Linked DNA regions of Homo sapiens: all the other regions are linked to region 5. The links are contacts of gene promoters, found by promoter capture Hi-C in blood cells and fetal thymus (Javierre and others, 2016). All regions are on one chromosome and are shown on one strand. The core of a region is centred on a gene start or on the middle of the fragment in contact, and the rest is flanking DNA. Distances in the headings are between cores, read along the strand shown.

The links. Contacts are between HindIII fragments. The CHiCAGO score rates a contact against its expected background, and 5 or more counts as called.
Region 1: a contact is called between a fragment that was not itself captured here and the fragment with the promoter of WSB1 in region 5, in 1 of 17 cell types (fetal thymus). The highest score is 5.2, in fetal thymus.
Region 2: a fragment that was not itself captured here is called in contact with the fragment with the promoter of WSB1 in region 5 in 1 of 17 cell types (neutrophils); the score reaches 5.4 in neutrophils.
Region 3: a contact is called between a fragment that was not itself captured here and the fragment with the promoter of WSB1 in region 5, in 12 of 17 cell types (non-activated CD4 T cells, activated CD4 T cells, neutrophils and 9 more). The highest score is 9.3, in non-activated CD4 T cells.
Region 4: a fragment that was not itself captured here is called in contact with the fragment with the promoter of WSB1 in region 5 in 17 of 17 cell types (naive CD4 T cells, erythroblasts, fetal thymus and 14 more); the score reaches 16.7 in naive CD4 T cells.
Region 6: a fragment that was not itself captured here is called in contact with the fragment with the promoter of WSB1 in region 5 in 1 of 17 cell types (erythroblasts); the score reaches 5.6 in erythroblasts.

The regions. Positions count from the first base shown.
Region 1 is chr17:27,559,610-27,562,309 of GRCh38, forward strand. The region is part of intron 2 of KSR1 (kinase suppressor of ras 1); the gene reads left to right. Among named protein-coding and RNA genes, the nearest start is that of LGALS9, 70 kb to the right of the region's middle. The HindIII fragment of the contact is 5,852 bases long and covers 1-2,700 here.
Region 2 is chr17:27,646,845-27,649,850 of GRCh38, forward strand. LGALS9 (galectin 9) reads left to right here. Exons shown (of 11, transcript NM_009587.3): 9 at 186-274; 10 at 426-588; 11 at 1,992-2,716. The coding sequence ends at 2,138. Among named protein-coding and RNA genes, the nearest start is that of LGALS9, 17 kb to the left of the region's middle. The HindIII fragment of the contact is 7,370 bases long and covers 1-3,006 here.
Region 3 is chr17:27,625,340-27,628,211 of GRCh38, forward strand. It overlaps KSR1 (kinase suppressor of ras 1), which reads left to right. Exons shown (of 21, transcript NM_001394583.1): 21 at 1-1,096. Among named protein-coding and RNA genes, the nearest start is that of LGALS9, 4.4 kb to the right of the region's middle. The HindIII fragment of the contact is 2,134 bases long and covers 494-2,627 here.
Region 4 is chr17:27,596,371-27,599,327 of GRCh38, forward strand. It overlaps KSR1 (kinase suppressor of ras 1), which reads left to right. Exons shown (of 21, transcript NM_001394583.1): 10 at 898-1,066. Among named protein-coding and RNA genes, the nearest start is that of LGALS9, 33 kb to the right of the region's middle. The HindIII fragment of the contact is 3,652 bases long and covers 1-2,957 here.
Region 5 is chr17:27,292,759-27,295,536 of GRCh38, forward strand. WSB1 (WD repeat and SOCS box containing 1) reads left to right here and starts at 1,356. Exons shown (of 9, transcript NM_015626.10): 1 at 1,356-1,677. The coding sequence starts at 1,638. It overlaps MIR4522 (microRNA 4522), which reads right to left and starts at 1,238; the gene lies at 1,152-1,238. RefSeq lists enhancers at 1,085-1,134, 1,505-1,564, 1,575-1,634 and a silencer at 1,175-1,384. The HindIII fragment of the contact is 5,795 bases long and covers 1-2,272 here.
Region 6 is chr17:27,575,624-27,578,612 of GRCh38, forward strand. It overlaps KSR1 (kinase suppressor of ras 1), which reads left to right. Exons shown (of 21, transcript NM_001394583.1): 3 at 1,869-2,016. Among named protein-coding and RNA genes, the nearest start is that of LGALS9, 54 kb to the right of the region's middle. The HindIII fragment of the contact is 5,877 bases long and covers 1-2,989 here.

The DNA.
Region 1 (2,700 bases), core at 74-2,573, 270 kb after region 5:
TCCTCTGCCCCAGGAGCACACAGACTGGGGTGAAACAGGAAGTGAGAGCCCCAGATGCCCTGATGGCTCCGGGATGGGATCTGTTGGAGCCAGTGGGCCAACTCATCCTGGGTAGTCAGGGAAAGACGGATGTCCGGGAAGGCAAGAGCACACCAGGCGGAGGGAAGAATATCTGCAGAGACCCTGAGGATGAGGAAATCAGAGCGCTTGTGAAGCGCGTGAGGAGGAGTCTGTGAGGAGGCTGGCGGGGAGCCGGGGTGGATTCCTGCAGCTCTCCCTGTGTGCAGTGTAGGGGTTGGGGCTCCTCTTAGGGGATATTGGAAGTGTGTGTGAGAGAGGGGCAGGAATTCCAAATGAACATTAGAATTGTTTAAAGGAAAATAAAACTAGCAAGAAGGCTGCATTCACATGGGGATGGGCTGAGAGTGACGGGGTGAGGAGCGCTGCCTCCCACGTGGCTGGAGGGTGGAAGGGTCGGGGATAGGAAATGAGATGGGAGGGAGCTCAGAGGCGGGGCCCTGCCCCGCTCCCAGTCATTTGGATTTGCACACTATGGCTGTTTCAAGCGGCCCCCTGTCCCACAAGTTACGTCTAAAAGTCTCAGCTTCATATTCTGGCAGCAGCTGGGGAAATGATTTCAGAGCCTGCTGGCATGGAGCCATTTTTTTTTTCTTTAGCAATTTCCCGGTTGGAAGTTGTTGAAAGGAAGTGGCAAGCGCTGCCTGAGCAGTTCTAGCTGGGAGAGGTGGGTGCTGCAGAGTCTGGGATTCCAGGGTGAAAGCCACAGGTTCCCCTGAATAAGCTCTTACTGCTGGTGGTTCCTGAACTGAAGATGCAGGCGGATCTGGTAAGGGGATTTTTGTTGTGATCCTGACTGGACATGTTTCTCTTTCCGCTCTCCTCTACCCTTGCGTTCCTGTGTTTAAGATGAGGCCTTCTCCCAGAGATGGGGGACAAAGCTGCCTTACTCCTGCCACCATTTTGGTTTCCCAGTGGCTGGGGGTGGCCAGAGCTCTGTGTGGACACCAGGAATGTAGGCTGTATGAGGCAGTAGGATGTGTGAGACCTAACCAGGAAAGCGAACCCGCATTTGGCTCCTGGGGTGCAGCTTGAGTCGGCATGACTATGGCCCTCATTCCTAGCCTCTCCTTCCCACCCCTCCTCCTGTCGGCCCCATACTCTCTCTTTGAGAGCCAGAGGCCCAGCTGTTCTTACAACCTTGCTCTTTGGCAACTGGGAGCCTCCCCAGGAAGCAGCACACACCCTCACCCAGCCTCCTGGAGGGATCTGTGCCAATGTGTCAGCCCAGCAGCACAGGGCTGCCTTGGTACCAGCCCAGTGGGGGCTGGGCCACACAGCTCTCCACTTAGGATGGGGAAATGGTGGCAAGTGGTGGACTGGCATGCCTGTATCACCTGGCCAGTCAGGAGAGGAGCTGAAGTTGGAGCATGGAAGGAAGGGGCAAGCTACAAGGCCAGCATTGTATAGATGTCATCCTGTTTCATCCTTATCCCTGGGACAGGAGACAGGGAGATCTGATGATCCCCTGCAAGCTGATGGCAGGATGAAGATTCAAACCCAGGTCCTTGTACTTCCTTCTCATACACAATTTTGTCATCTAATATCTTACCCAGAATAGCACAGTTTTGGGGCTACTGTATGATATGTAGTTGTGTAAATGAATTGACTGCCTGCCTTTGTGTGTGTGCACGTGTGTCTCTCTCTTCCCCCCTCATTTCTTCTTTCCTTTACATTCACTCGTTACTCATATGCACCCATTGATCACTTACCTTTTACCTGGTACCTTGATTAATTATCACAGAGGATTAATTGATGAGCAAAATAGTCTGTCCTGGATGCTTACAGCTAGTGTGATGCACACGTCTGCAAATAACTAGGGTGCGTAGCTGACTGCTGGCCCCAAGGAGCGGGGAAGGGATGAAGCATGGTCAGGTACAGAGCTGAGGTCCTACTTCCATTCAGTTATTTATTCACTCACTCAGTGTGTATTTAGCACCTGTTGTGTGCTCGGCACTGTTCTAGCCACTGAACATGAGTTCCTGTCCTTCTGGAACTGGCAGACATCACTTTCTCCAATAGATGAAGTCATTAATTTTTCTTATCTTGAGCCAAAGGTACCCACTTTTCAGGGTGGGGGTTCCCCTGGTTTCATGAAATCTGAAAAATCATGAGCATGAATGTCCTGCTTAGTCCTGTACTGCTTGGTGTTTGTTTGTTTGTCTGTTGTTTGTTTGTGGCAGAGTCTCGCTCTGTCGCCCAGGCTGGAGTAGAGTGACGCAATCTTGGCTCACTGCAACCTCCACCTCCCGGGTTCAAGTGATTCTTGTGCCTCAGCCTCCTGAGTAGCTGAGACCACAGGAACATGCCACCACACCCGGCTAATTTTTGTATTTTTAGTAGAGACGGGTTTTTTCCATGTTGGCCAGGCTAGTCTTGAACTCTAGTCCTCAAGTGATCTGCCCGCCATGGCCTCCCAAAGTGCTGGGATTACAGGCATGAGCCACCAGGCCCGGCCTTGCTTGGTGTTTTTGATCAATCCTTTGGATTTCTGGGCTGCCCAGTCCAGTGAAAACTGACTAGACTAGAAGCACCATGTTGGCAGGGACCTGGCTATTTCATTCACAGCTCTATCCCCAGTGCCTGGCATGTGGTGGGTTTTCTTGTTGAATGATTGGATTC
Region 2 (3,006 bases), core at 441-2,940, 350 kb after region 5:
AGTTCCTTTCATGACACTAATCTAAGCCCATTAATTTGAGGAGCACTGGAAAGTTTTCCTTTGGCTTTTATGGAACCAAGTAAAGATATCATGGGCTTCTTCTCAGCTGACAGCCCAAATTCATGGGAACTGGTACAATCTTCCCCTTCCGCGTGGTGGCTGACCTGTCCCCCTTCTTCCGACAGCCGATGCCTTTCATCACCACCATTCTGGGAGGGCTGTACCCATCCAAGTCCATCCTCCTGTCAGGCACTGTCCTGCCCAGTGCTCAGAGGTAAGCCAAGGGCTCCAGTGACCTCTGGGAAGAGAGAGCCCTTCAAGGTCAGTCCAGCCATTCCCCTGGCTTCAGGAAGGCTACTGATGATGGGGAGGAAATGGGACTCAGAATTCGGTGGATAAAGGTTCAGGTGGGCTGCCCACCCCAGGTTCCACATCAACCTGTGCTCTGGGAACCACATCGCCTTCCACCTGAACCCCCGTTTTGATGAGAATGCTGTGGTCCGCAACACCCAGATCGACAACTCCTGGGGGTCTGAGGAGCGAAGTCTGCCCCGAAAAATGCCCTTCGTCCGTGGCCAGAGCTTCTCAGTAAGGCACCGCAGTCTGGAGCTTGGAGAGGCTCCCATGGGTGCACAGGGGGAGGGGGTAAAGGAGGTTTGAGGTACCTTGAACAGTATGGGGGCTGATTCCTCTGGGATGAAGGCCCAAAAGAAGAGAAGGTGGCCAACAAATTATTATTATTATTACTGTCCCGCATGAAGGAAGTGCTGGGATCTGCTTTTTCAGATGAGGAAACAAACTCACAAGTGCAGGTTACTTGCTTGTGGTCACACAGTCAGTAAGTGTCAAATCAGACCCAAGAAGGAGGTGTTATTCATTTCTTCATTTACTCAACAACCATTTTCTTGTCGCCTGCTTTGCGCAGGAAGCACCCCACATGCTGGGGGCACAGTCATGAAGCACACAGACAGGGTCCTGCCTCCAGGGAGTTTATAATTTAGGTGGGGAAAGAACAAGGAAAGTAAAGCATGGACAGATTGTCACAGATAACGACAGTGCCACGCACAAAGCAAAACAGAGCGATGAGATAGAGCGAGCCTGGGAGGGGCAGCTAGGGCCAACGTGCAGAGGCACGGGTGTGGCCTGTCCAGGAACAGCAGGCAGGCGTGCTCCACCCTGACTACATATTCAAATCACCCAGAGAGCTTACAAAGGAAATATCAGTGCTGGGACCCCAGCCCAGGCCAATGAGGCAGTCAGCTGGGCATTCGTATTTTAAAAATATGCCTTAAGTGATTATACTCTGCAGTCAGAGTTGAAAATGACTGATGTAGGGCTTTGCAGCCATGGAAAGGAGCTTGGATTTTAACACAGTGAAAAGCCTCAGGAGTGTTTCAAGCCAGGGAGCAACATACTTTGATTTGTAGACAGCTGTGTGACCTCGGACAAGTGACTTAATTATTCTGTGCTTCAGTTTCCTCATCTACAAAATGGAGCTAATAATCATGAATTTCCTAGAGTTGTAAGAATGGAATGAGACAGTATCTGTAGTATGCTTAGGACAGTGCCTGGCAGGTGGCATGTGTGATAGGAGTGTTAGCTATTGCAAAGGGAAGGAGGTTTTAACATTTGTACCCTGACTGCTTCGTGGAGAAGGCATTGGGGTGGAAAAGACAAGTTAGGAGACTGATGCTGCAGGAGCCCAGGCCCAGAGCACTCCTGTGTGCTGGGCCTGAGGGATACAGACGGCACAGGCCAGTGCTCCTGTCCCTGATGGGGTGGGAACAGTATTCTAGACCAGGGAACAGTACAGGGGAAAGAGCACGCACAGCCTGTTTAGTGAAGAGCCGTCGTTCAGTGGGGATAGAGTGCAGGTGAGGGGCTTATTAACAACTGAGGAGGGAGGGAGGGTGGGAGGGAGGGAGAGAGGAGGCTGCAGTGAGGGTGGAGGACTTCCCAAGTGTAGTGCAAACGGCATGATCTCTGCACAGGTGTGGATCTTGTGTGAAGCTCACTGCCTCAAGGTGGCCGTGGATGGTCAGCACCTGTTTGAATACTACCATCGCCTGAGGAACCTGCCCACCATCAACAGACTGGAAGTGGGGGGCGACATCCAGCTGACCCATGTGCAGACATAGGCGGCTTCCTGGCCCTGGGGCCGGGGGCTGGGGTGTGGGGCAGTCTGGGTCCTCTCATCATCCCCACTTCCCAGGCCCAGCCTTTCCAACCCTGCCTGGGATCTGGGCTTTAATGCAGAGGCCATGTCCTTGTCTGGTCCTGCTTCTGGCTACAGCCACCCTGGAACGGAGAAGGCAGCTGACGGGGATTGCCTTCCTCAGCCGCAGCAGCACCTGGGGCTCCAGCTGCTGGAATCCTACCATCCCAGGAGGCAGGCACAGCCAGGGAGAGGGGAGGAGTGGGCAGTGAAGATGAAGCCCCATGCTCAGTCCCCTCCCATCCCCCACGCAGCTCCACCCCAGTCCCAAGCCACCAGCTGTCTGCTCCTGGTGGGAGGTGGCCTCCTCAGCCCCTCCTCTCTGACCTTTAACCTCACTCTCACCTTGCACCGTGCACCAACCCTTCACCCCTCCTGGAAAGCAGGCCTGATGGCTTCCCACTGGCCTCCACCACCTGACCAGAGTGTTCTCTTCAGAGGACTGGCTCCTTTCCCAGTGTCCTTAAAATAAAGAAATGAAAATGCTTGTTGGCACATTCATGTGGGTTGACCATGGCTTCTTTAATTCATTTGGAGACATTTTGGAGTCTGTGGAATCGGGCGGGGGTGCTGCTGAGAGGAGTGGGATGGGAAAGCATGGACTCCCTTTGGGCAGGGGGTCCTGACCTCACACCTCCTCCCAGAGGGTCTCTTGCAAATCCCACGAGGGTGTTGGAGAAAGCAGGCTGGGGCTCTAGCCTTTTGGGCAGGAGTCTCGGACACAGGAAGGGTGGTAATGGGGGACACCAGGAAACAGCCCCATGCCTCCGAGATGGGAGAGGGGCTGGGGC
Region 3 (2,872 bases), core at 311-2,810, 330 kb after region 5:
AGTCTGGGTTTTGCTTTTCTCGTGAGCATCACAGTTAAAGAAGCGCTCATTGAGCAACTACAGTGCACTTGGTCTTCTGCAAGTGCTGGGCACCTAGAGATAGGAACAGTCATGGTCCCTGCTCTTAAGGAACTGATGACCTGGTGGGGCCCTGTTGTCTTCAAGGAACCCAGAAGCCACTGGGCCCCAAAGGTGGAACTGAAGGACTGGGGGCAGCTGGCTCTCAGCCTGCCACCTCTGCACTGCCTGCCTTTAAAGAACCCCACCCCACCCCATGATGGCCCCCTCTGTTCCCCTTGTATTTCAGTGACTGTGAATTGAGGTTAGGAAGGCACACCTGCCCTTCTGTGTGCTCTCTCCACACGAAGGATGACAGATACTGTGAATTCAGCCCTCACGGCCAACTGTGAAGGGGATGGAGAAGGCTGGGAGGGCTCGGGGAGAGCTCTTAGGGGCTGCGGAAGTCCCCACGGGGGTCTGAGAGTGGAGCCCAAGCTTTGGCCCTCCAGGCATCCCCAGTTTCCAGCCTCACCTCTGAAGCCCTGCTGCCTTTAACCACCAGAGCCGCAGCCCCCTGGGTTTCTGTCTAACTCGAAGTCTTGAATCCTAGCTAGTTTGGGGTTGTGAGCAGTGTGTAGCAAAGTTGATCTCTCCATGTCACCAAATCAAAACACCCTCTGTCATCCTACGGCATTTCCTCTTGAGGTCACAGAGAGGAATGGCAAGCCCTGGAAACCTGTGTTATTCTGTGTTGATTTGGTGTGGGGGGAGGGTGGAGACGTAAATGTGAAGCCAGTTGGAGTTTGTGCTATGCAGCAGTGTTAGCCAGGATCTCATCAGCGTGCAAACCTAGCATCTTCTGTGGCCACAAGCCACACACTTGCTTTTTTTGAATGTGATGTAAAATTTGTACAGTAAAGTTTTTATATTTTCTATCAACTACATTTGTCTTCCAGACATGCTATTAATTTAAATTAAAATGGTTAGTATTAACAAACATGCTGTATCGGGTTTTTTTGCCACTGGCAAGAACATGCCCTCTGTGCTAAGCCAGGCCTGGGTGTCTGGAGTTTGTGAATAAAGTTATACCAAGGTGTTCTGGGGCTTGTCTTTGCTTTGGTCAGTTCCAGCTGAGTCCTGGGGACCATTTGGATGGGTGGCATGGGAATGGATAGGTCTGGGGTGACTGAACCCCTGGTCTATAGATTAAGGAGCTCCTTCCAAAGGAAGAAGTTATGCCAGGACCTCAGTGGCAGGTGTTTCTAAACAGATGGAGGAATGGAGAAGGCACAGCGTCAATGGCCCACAATGCGCAGAGGAAGATCATCCAGGCCCCAGCAGCAACAAAGCCATGAGCAGGCCCAGCATCTCCTGAGCTGGAGATGCCTTAGCCTTATGGAAGCCTTGGAGGGATGAGGTGGTGTTCATCTGAATCCAATATCTAGGAGCCCCTCATTGCCAGTTATATATACAGATAGGTGGAGAAGAGGTACTTTCTAAACACCATCTCACTTTAATCCTCACAAGGCCATGAGGTAAGAATTGTGATGTTTCAGCTGAGGAAAATGAGAAACGGAGAGGTTAAGGTATTCACCCAAGATCACACAGCTGCAGGGTGGCCAATCCAGGACTCAGGCCACAGCTTTCACTCCAGAATCTCTCCAGAAGTCTAGGAATTTGCTGGTCAGACATTTACTGAGCACCTACTATGTTCATAAGACAGTGCTAGGTTGTGGAGCATTTTCCAGGATAGGCCGCGTGGTAGGCCACACATTAAGTCTCAATAGATTTAAACATAACATACAAAGCATCTTCTCCAACCACAATAGGATGAAGTTAGGCAGCGGCACTAGATTCTCATAGGGGCACAAACCCTATTGTGAACTACACATGTGAAGGATCTAGGTTGTGCGCTCCTTAGGAGAATCTGAGTCTAATGCCTGATGATCTAAGGTGGAAAAGTTTCATCCTGAAATCATTGTATATCCCTTTCCATCCGTGAAAAATTGCCCTCCATGAAACTGGTCCCTGGTGCCAAAAAGTTTGGTGACTGCTGCCTTAAACTACTACTGGATTTACTGAGTGAGGCAAACCAAGTACTGTTTTGTCATAGTCTGTTTACAGGAGAGAGTTGCACTGTTAATTTGCCATTAGGAAGCAGTTAGAACCATATATCTGACTTTATGGAGGTAGAATACGCTCAAAGAGAATGTTCTCAGTGGGGGGGATGTGCATGCATGTTTTAGTGATTAATGTGGTTCAGTACGGCTGTACCAATACAATGAGGTTTCCAAAGGGAACTGGACAAGACGACCCAGGGCCCCCTGCATTGTACGACAGGACTCAGGTGTCTGCGGGCATCACTGACTGCCCTGCCGAGGCCCTCTGTGCTGGAGGTGTCACTGCAGATGGAAGGATTCCTTCTTGAGGAAGTCTACTACTGGCGAAGGTGAATGGGTCTGGGCGCAGGATCAGTGCAGTCCAGGAGTGACTCTAAAGGTGCTGGTGTGTGGGCACTACGTGCGGAGCTCAGCCCCAAGTCCTTTTCATGCATTAGCCCATTTAATCCCCACAGCATCTCTCTAAGGTTCACATTCATTTGCCTCATTTTATGGGTGAGGAAAGGAAGCTTGGAGAAATTAAGGAACTTATTGAAGATCACACAAGAATTAAATGACAGGGCCAAGATTCAAACGTGGGCTATTTGTACTATCTATAGAATTGTATGTCTGGCCCACATTTTGTTGACCACTCATCCATTGATGGACATGCGTTGCTTTCACCTCTTGGCTTTTGTGAATGATGCTCCTACAAACATGGGTGTTCACATGTCTCTTTGAGTTCCTGTTTTTGGTTATTTGGGGGATATACC
Region 4 (2,957 bases), core at 393-2,892, 300 kb after region 5:
GTGTCCAAGGGCTTCCTAAAGATGTCTCACTAGGCACCAAACGTGTTTCCCATGGCAAGCACTGGTTGATGTGATCCATTAGCAGGGGGAGCATGCTTGCTTTGAGTGTGGAAGGGATGACATTAACATTTAAGTTGGGACAACATGAGTGAACCAGGCCTGTCCTGACAAACCAACTCCTGTGGTCATCTTCTAGAAAGTTCTTTCTAGCTCCAGAATTCTTACCCCTCCAAAATGGCAGACCGCACTAGCCCAAGCCATCACCTCTTTCAGGGTTTTGTAGTTTGACTCTAAGACTTCACAGTGCCTTTGATTCAGCCAGGTTTCCAAAGAAAAGGACTGTACACCTCTCGCTTATCATTGGTCTCCCTACTTCTGGCAGAGTGCCTGGTGCCTAGCAGACATGATATAACATTTATCAGAGCCTGAACTTAATTCATTATAAAATGCTAATGTGTGCCCAGCTCAGAGCCAGTCACTGAGTATGTGACGGTCACCCTGGCCTCATGGAACACACAAGGTAGTGGGAGAGACTTTCATCAGGAAAGTGCCCGTGGACATCTGCAGTAGACACGGTGCCCTGATGAAAAACTGCTGGGAACTGTGCCAGGATGGAGAGGAGGAGCGTGGTCCCAGCCAGGGTGCAGGAAAGGCTTCTGGGAAGAGTGTGCTTGAGCTGAAATCAGAAAGCTGAGCAGGAGCCCCCCGGGGAGTGAGCACTGAGGCGAGGGCCTCTGTGCGCTGCCCTTCCTCAAATGTTAGATGTGTAAAATGTCAGACCCTGAGGATTCCCTGGGCTGACTGCTTCCTTTCCAGATGGGGAAGGGAGGGTGTGGCTGGTGGGAGGCAGGTGGGGCCAGGACAGCCCTGCCATTCCCAACATCTCTGGTCCTGCAGGAGCACCCTCCGGCCATGAATCACCTGGACTCCAGCAGCAACCCTTCCTCCACCACCTCCTCCACACCCTCCTCACCGGCGCCCTTCCCGACATCATCCAACCCATCCAGCGCCACCACGCCCCCCAACCCCTCACCTGGCCAGCGGGACAGCAGGTTCAACTTCCCAGGTACCACATCTCCAGGCTTTTCTGGGTTCTAAGGGATACAGTCAGATCCCCTTCTCAGCAGACCCAAGTTCGGCAGATTCAAGGTCAGACATGGCCACAGCTAAGAGCTGATGTTTATGAAGTACTTGTCCGGCGCCCCAAGCACAATAGCTCTGAGGTTGATGCTGTTGTTTTACAGATGGGAATACTGAGGTTCAGAGAGAGGGAGGGGCTTGCCATGAGTTGTACAGCCTGTAAGTGGCAGAATGGAGATCAAACCCAAGTCTGTCTGACATAACATAATCCTCGCACTGCCCTCCTCTTCATGGGGTGGCCTCTCCTGGGCAGTGCTCACTTTCTCGGGACTGGCTTCTGAGCTCCCAGGAGGCATGGCCAGCAACACAGGGAGCTAGAAGGCCTCAGGGAGGGAATCTGGGGTCCTGCTGCTTCCCACTCGTGATCTGGGTAAGCTCCTTCAAGGAGACCTCTCGTTCCCTTTATAAGATAGGTGACCATGTAAAGTTGGAATTAGGTTGTTCCCATTGTGTGGATGAAGACACTGAGTCCCACAGGAGTTTAAAGCAGAGTAGACCTGAGCCAGAGCTGACCTCCAGCTCCACCCCAGCCCACTGCCTGGTGTCTGTGGGGAGAGGTCAGGATTCCAGCCTCTCCTGCCCTCAGCTGCTGGCCTGGGGGTGTCTGCCTCTCCAAGCAGCAGAGTGAAGCCCACCTGCCCATTTTGGGACTGAGCTGCTGCCTCGGCCTCCCTGGCAGCTCCTCAGAGTCAGTCTCAGCCTTCAGTTTATTACAGTTCGCAGTCCCAGAGGAAGGAAGGTGACTGTGACACTCCTGTTTGCTCTGGACCCAGCCACAGGCCGTCTCCAGCCCATAGAGTCCAGGTCAGGCCCCTGTCTCTGGCCTCTGGAGCTCCAGGTCCATGAGGACAGGCACAGCTCTCCCTGTGCCAGGAGATCCCCAGCTGGAGCCATACCCAGCCAGCAGGAGGCCAGGGAGCTTCTCCTGGGACTTCTTTTGGGGACGGTGGAGACGGAGATCTTGTAGGAATCTCTCTCTTTGCCTTCACCTCAGCACGCACGTGGCTGGATATCTCCTGACATTCACGCGTTGTCCTGAGCACACCCCTCCCCTCCCTGCATTGAGTGATGGCCCATTTGATTAACCTCCTCTCCCATTCTGCTCTGTCTTTATTATGCTCTGAAACTGTGCCTTTTGCTAAACCTCCCAGTTTGGGTTTTTGTAAAAGCAAAGGGTGTGTTTGGAACACGGCAGTCACAGAAAAAGTTCTTTTTGCACAATCAGCCAGACCCTTGCTGCTTTCCCTGATGTCCCCAGATTGGGCCTTCATCGTCCCCTGCACAGAGGCCTCACTCTCTCCAAGATCCTGTCTCTTTGGTCGTGGCAGCACCAATGGGTCAACCCTCCCCCCAACCCCCACTGCCCGCCCGGCTGGCCCGGTGGTTCAGCTGGAGAAGGCACGCCTCCTATCGTCCCCTGCTCTGTGCTGTGCAGGGGCATTGCACTTGAACTTCAGGGGTAAACCTGGGAAAAGATTATAGTCACGTGCTGCTTCACAACGGGGAAATGTTCTGAGAGAGAGATTCCGTGATTTCATTGTTACGTGAGCATCATAGAGCGCACTTACGTAAACCCAGATGGTATAGTCCTCCACACGCCTCGGCTGTGTGGTGTAGCCTGTTGTTTCTAGACTGCAAACCTATGCAGCATGTGACTGTACTGAATATTGTAGGCAATTGTAGCACAATGCTAAATATTTGTGTATCTAAACATCTGAACACAGAAAAGCTACAGTAAATATACAGCATAAAATATTAAAAATAGGGCTGGGCACAGTGGCTTATGCCTGTAATTCCAGCATTTTGGGAGGCCGAGG
Region 5 (2,778 bases), core at 106-2,605:
ACTCCGTCTCAAAAAAAAAAATAAATAAATAACCAAAAAAAAAAAAAAGGAGGGGCGATGTTTTATTAAACATTTCGCTATTTGAAGAATTAATACACTCATGCAAAGAAAAGATGAAGTAAACATGCCCTACAGTGTTATCATTTGAGATCTCTTAAAAGCGGCTATGCAGCCGGGCGTGGTGGCTCACGTTGTAATCCCAGCACTTTGGGAGGCTGAGGCGGGCGGATCACTCGAGGCCAGGAGTTCGAGACTAGCCTGGCCAACAGGGTGAAACGCCCTCTGTACTAAAAATACAAAAATTACCCGGGCTTGGTGTCACATGCCTGTACAAATCCCAGCTACTGGGGAGGCTGAGGCAGGAGAATTGCCTGAACCCGGGAAACGGAGGTTGCAGTGAGCCAAGATCACGCCATTGCACCCCAGCCTGGGAGAAGCGAGACTCCGTCTCAAAAAAAAAAAAAAAAAAAAAAAAAAAAGCGGCTATGCAACACTCTACTCTGTCCCATGAATATCTGCCACATATTTGAATTCCCAGTCTTATACGCCCCAGGCCTTTGCAATGTTTAGGGTCCACACGAGAAGCCATTAAAATGCAAATACGTCATCTGTGACCGGGAACCAAGCTGGCATCTAGCAGATACTGACACATTTATCAGTCTGATGTGTGGACAACTAGGTGCCTCCCAGAGGCCTTCAGGTAAGGTGGAGGAAGGGCCAATTCTGAGCTGACACAGTGGGATCCATCTTGGCCAGGACAGTGGGATCCATCTTGGCCAGGACAAAGGCAGTCCAGAGAGGCCCCGCGGCGCGGTGCGGCGCGATCACGCCCGAGTCTCCTTCTCGTTCCCCTCGGCCCTTCCTAAAACCTGCTGGCTCAGGTCTGAACAATCGCAGCTGGACAGGTGGTGCACAACGATGTTAATTTTCATCCTGTCTTTTTCATCAGTGCATCCTTCAGTTCCCTATTACTTGTGGGCTGGGGAGTTGGCCAAATTGAGTGAAAACCTGAAATGTCTTTTTGTTCTTTTGGTTCAGCCAGTTTAAGTTCCATGCAATCTTTAAGCTAGGAGGCTAATAATAATACAATTCTCTGCTTGCCCTTTTCAAAGCCACTTCAGCTTATAAACTCCATATTAGACCATCCAGGCCCAGAAGACGCCACCGGCCTACAGGCAGAGTCAGCGGAACCAGCCTGGGCTGGATCTCCCCCTGCGAGGCCCCCAGGCAACGCCCGCGCCGGGCCGGGGAGATCACGTCCCGTGCGTCGGGAGGCGGGGGCCTCGGGCTGTGACGTCACGTGGCCGCGCCCCTGCCGCCCAGATATCTCCGGCGCCGCCCGCCATTTTGACTCCAGTGTCTCGTTTGCAGTCGGCGCTTTAGGGGAACTGTCTTCCTCCGCAGGCGCGAGGCTGGGTACAGGGTCTATTGTCTGTGGTTGACTCCGTACTTTGGTCTGAGGCCTTCGGGAGCTTTCCCGAGGCAGTTAGCAGAAGCCGCAGCGGCCGCCCCCGCCCGTCTCCTCTGTCCCTGGGCCCGGGAGGGACCAACTTGGCGTCACGCCCCTCAGCGGTCGCCACTCTCTTCTCTGTTGTTGGGTCCGCATCGTATTCCCGGAATCAGACGGTGCCCCATAGATGGCCAGCTTTCCCCCGAGGGTCAACGAGAAAGAGATCGGTGAGGATTGGGACCGTGGGTGGGCGCATGAGGGCCGAGGAGAGGCAGGGACTCCCCGGAGGAGGTTTGGGAGGAAGCGACTCCAAGTCTGAGGGAAGAGCTCCAGTGCGCCAGGGCCAGCCCACTAGCGAGGAGGAGGAAGCCGCCTCGGTGGGAGTTGGCTGAGGGGTAAACGGCACCGACGTGGATGCAGCACCTACTGTGCTCCCTCGCGGTTGCTGTGTGGCTGGGGCGGGCAAGGACCCCGGTTTCTTCGTCGGAGGTCCGCGCAGGGCTCTTGTCCTGGGAGTTCTTGGCTCAGGGCATGACTGTCGAGTGGACAGGGAAGGGCCACTCAGGGACTTTAGGTTTACAATGGGGAAAAGTAAACTTGTGGGTTGTAAGCGGTAATGAAAGGAGGGGGTCCTCGTGTGTACCAACCACTCTTAGATAGAAATGAGATGGAAGAGGTCCCAACAGCCTGGCAAAAGCAATACAGTATTTTTAAAATGGTGTGGCCTTAAGAAACGCAGCGGTTCGGGGGAGGAGACTTTTAGAATTATCTTTCAAACACTTAAGGGAGGAGCTGGGTGGTTGGGTGGAGTGACAGAAGGAAAGCTTTTGTGCGGAAGAGGAAACTCTGGAAAAGGCTTTTCTGGCTTAGTGTCTAGCCCTGGTCGGCTTAGTAAAGGGCAATTAGTGTTGAAGGTTGTGCGTCCACACCTACTTAGTGGCTCAGTGGAAAGCACGTCGCATTATTTAAATCCTCTTTTAAAGTAAAATAACTGGAACAACGTTTGACGGTGTTGGGGGGTGCTGTACATTGGCTGATAACACTTAGCAAACACTGATCTTACTGTGTGAAGTAATAATTAGCTGCGGCCGCTGAGCAGAGAGCATTTACATTTTCCTACTCTTGAAGTGAATGTGTGCCTTTACTAAGTACAAGGAGGAGTTATTTCTAGAGAAGGGAAGAGGCTGAAGTAGCCAAAACGCGCACTATTTTGTATGTGGGTGAATTTTTATATCTAGAAACAGCTGTTTTAGAATTCTGGACTTTTGTTGTCTTAGGGATGATTGATTAGGAAGGGACTTTAACCCTGGTTTTAATAACCATTTTTA
Region 6 (2,989 bases), core at 357-2,856, 280 kb after region 5:
TCATTTTACCCAGCCCCTATTCAAGATGGAATGGCTCTGGTTCCAGTGCCTCTGACAGTGTCATGTGGCTCAAAGTAGTCAGAGCTGGAGAGGTTTCCTCCCTCCCTGATGAGAGGAAAGGGCACAAGTTTTGAAGTCCACTGAGCCTTGATTCTACCATTCATTCTTTGTATTTTCCATTGCTTCATAACAAATTTAGCAGCTTAACACACCACCCGCTTATCATCTCATGGTTCTCTAGGTGGAGGAATCCACTCAGGCTCTGCTTATATCCCTACTTGGGATCTCACAAGGCTGAGGTCAAGGTGTAGGCCAGGCCTTCCTCTTACCTGGAAGTTCTGGAGAAGAATCCACTTCACGTTCATTCAGGTTATTGGCAGAATCCATTTCCTTGTGGCTGGAGGTCTGAGGTCCTCATTCCCTCAATGGCTGTCAGCCAGGGGCTACTTTTTTTCCCAGAGGCCACCCCCATTCCCCTCCTCCTTCAAAGTCTGCTTTTCACGCTTCAGGTCTCTTGACTTCTCTGTTACCAGCTCAAGAGAACCCTTTGCTTTTAAAGGGCTCTTGTGATTGGATGAAGCCTACTTGGATAATTTCCCTTTTGCTGTATATAGTAATACCCCCTTTTCTGTAGGGGATATGTTCCAGGACCCTCAGTGGATGCCTGAAACCATGGATAGTACTGAATATATATATATATGATGTATACTGTGTTTTTTCCTATACATACATACCTCTGATAAAGTTAGTAAGTTGGGCACAGTAAGAGATTAATAATCAACAATAACAAAATAGAGCAATTATAACAATACACTATAATGAAAGTTACAGGAATGTGGTCTCTCTTCTCTCTCTCAAAATATCTTACTGTACTGTTCTCACCCCTCATCTTGTGATGCTGTGAGATGATAAAGTGCCTATGTGGGGAGAGGTCGTGGCAGTTGATCTGATAACCAAGATAGCTACTAAGTGACAAACAGGCCGGGAGTGGAGACAGTGTGGAGACGCTGGACAAAGGGACAATTCACGTCTCCGGTGGGATGGAGCTGGATGGCGCAAGATTTCATCACATTACTCAGAATGGTGCATAGTTTAAAACTATAAATTGTTTATTTCTGGAATGTTTCTGGCATTTTCCATTTAATAGTTTTAGGCTATGGTTGGCTGCTGGTAACTGAAACTGCAGATAAGAGGGAGACTTCTGTAATGTAACAAGATCAGGAGCAACACCAGGGGACAAAGGTCACAAGACCACCTTAAAATTCTGCCTGCCACTTTCTTCACCGTATGGCCTAGTGACCTCGTGCAGGTGACATAATCTCTCTGAGCCTCTTTCTTCATCTGTCAGGTGGGGCCAGTGAAAAGTTTTGATAGAAATCAGGTGAGGCAGTAAGTGCCTCTGCAGTGTTTGGTGAGGTTTTTTTGTTTTTTTTTTTTAAATCCTTCCTTTCTTGAGCCAGTTTGATTTGAAATCTCTCTTATCTGATTCAGATACAACAAAATTGTGAAGGGCCATCTTTGTCTGAAGTACTCGTCATTCTAAAAAGTTGTTATGACTCGCTGTTTTTTTTCTGTGCAGAGGAGTAAGAAGAAACAAGCTGGGCAACATGCCCTCGTCCAAACCTTTCTGGTCTTTACTTCCTCCCCTCACCCCCCACCGAGTCTGCTTCAGCTGCTGTCTCTGGGAGCCTGGAGGGTGGGGGCCAGGGAGCTCTGCTTGTGTCCCCAAGCACGTGGTGGCTCTGGTCAGAGGCCGGCCCAGCCAGCAGCTGGCCCCTGCCACTCAGCAGGAGGCCAGCCTGAGGCTGAGGGGCTCCCGGCCCAGCCGACTGCTCACCGCCTCTCTGCCTGTCCCTCTGTCCCCTTAGGAGATCCCCCGAGACCTCACGCTGGATGCCCTGCTGGAGATGAATGAGGCCAAGGTGAAGGAGACGCTGCGGCGCTGTGGGGCCAGCGGGGATGAGTGTGGCCGTCTGCAGTATGCCCTCACCTGCCTGCGGAAGGTGACAGGCCTGGGTACGTGGGGCCTGCCACCCTCTCCCTTGCCTGGCCTGGTGCCCTTGGGGCTGTGGCCTTCACTATGGTGGGTGATGGAGCGGGGCAAGCGTGGCCCAGGGTTTCTGGGGCAGCCTGGAAAGGCCAGGGTTGGATGTTCACAGCCTCCTGAGAAGCTCTCCCAGGGTCCTCAGGGCTCTGGATCCTGGTGGGTCTGGCCAGGCCGAATCTGAGGGGTTTCAGCCATGGTTAGAAATCCCAGGCCTGTCTGCTGGGCTGGGCTGGCCTGGCATGGTTTCCTCTCTGTTGAGGGCTCTGTGTACCCTCTGCCAGCTTCCCACATTCCAGCCCCCAGCCCTCTCCCCGTCTTCTCCTGTCCCCATTGCTGGCTGGGTTCTGTGCTCAGAAGGCACATGCTGATGTGGGCCTGAGCCAAGGGTGATTAGGGAAACTCTATGGCTCTTTAGCTGGGAGTGTGTACGTGGCTGTCCCAGGCAAAGTGTGTAATCCTGGCCTTGCCACGAGGTCCTTGGGAATTATTCACAGGCTTTCTAAATCTTGCGTCGGAAACAGCTTCAAATGCCTGACTTAATGGTCCCACTACCACATAGATAAGGCATTAAAATAAGCCTCATGAATGGAATCAGGCCTGGTTTTTAATTATCTGAGGCCCCTGTCTTATCTCCGTCTGCCTGAGGCTTAAGGAAGGCACCAAGGTTTATATTCTGCCTGGTTTTTTCTTCCCAGAGAGGATCGGGCTTAATTTCCTCTCTGCCCTCATTGTATCAAGTCCTCTGAACACGGCACAGTGTAGAAAGTTGCACTCAATTCAGAAAATCTTGACCTGCCAGGTCTCCCGGCAGATGCTGAAAATAAACACAACAGAAGTGTGGCTGGTGTTCTTGTTCTCACATATTACAGGAGACTGAGCTCAGAGAGGGAAAGGGCTTGGGTAAGGGCACACAGCAGTTGGTGGCTGAGCCAGAATTTGAAC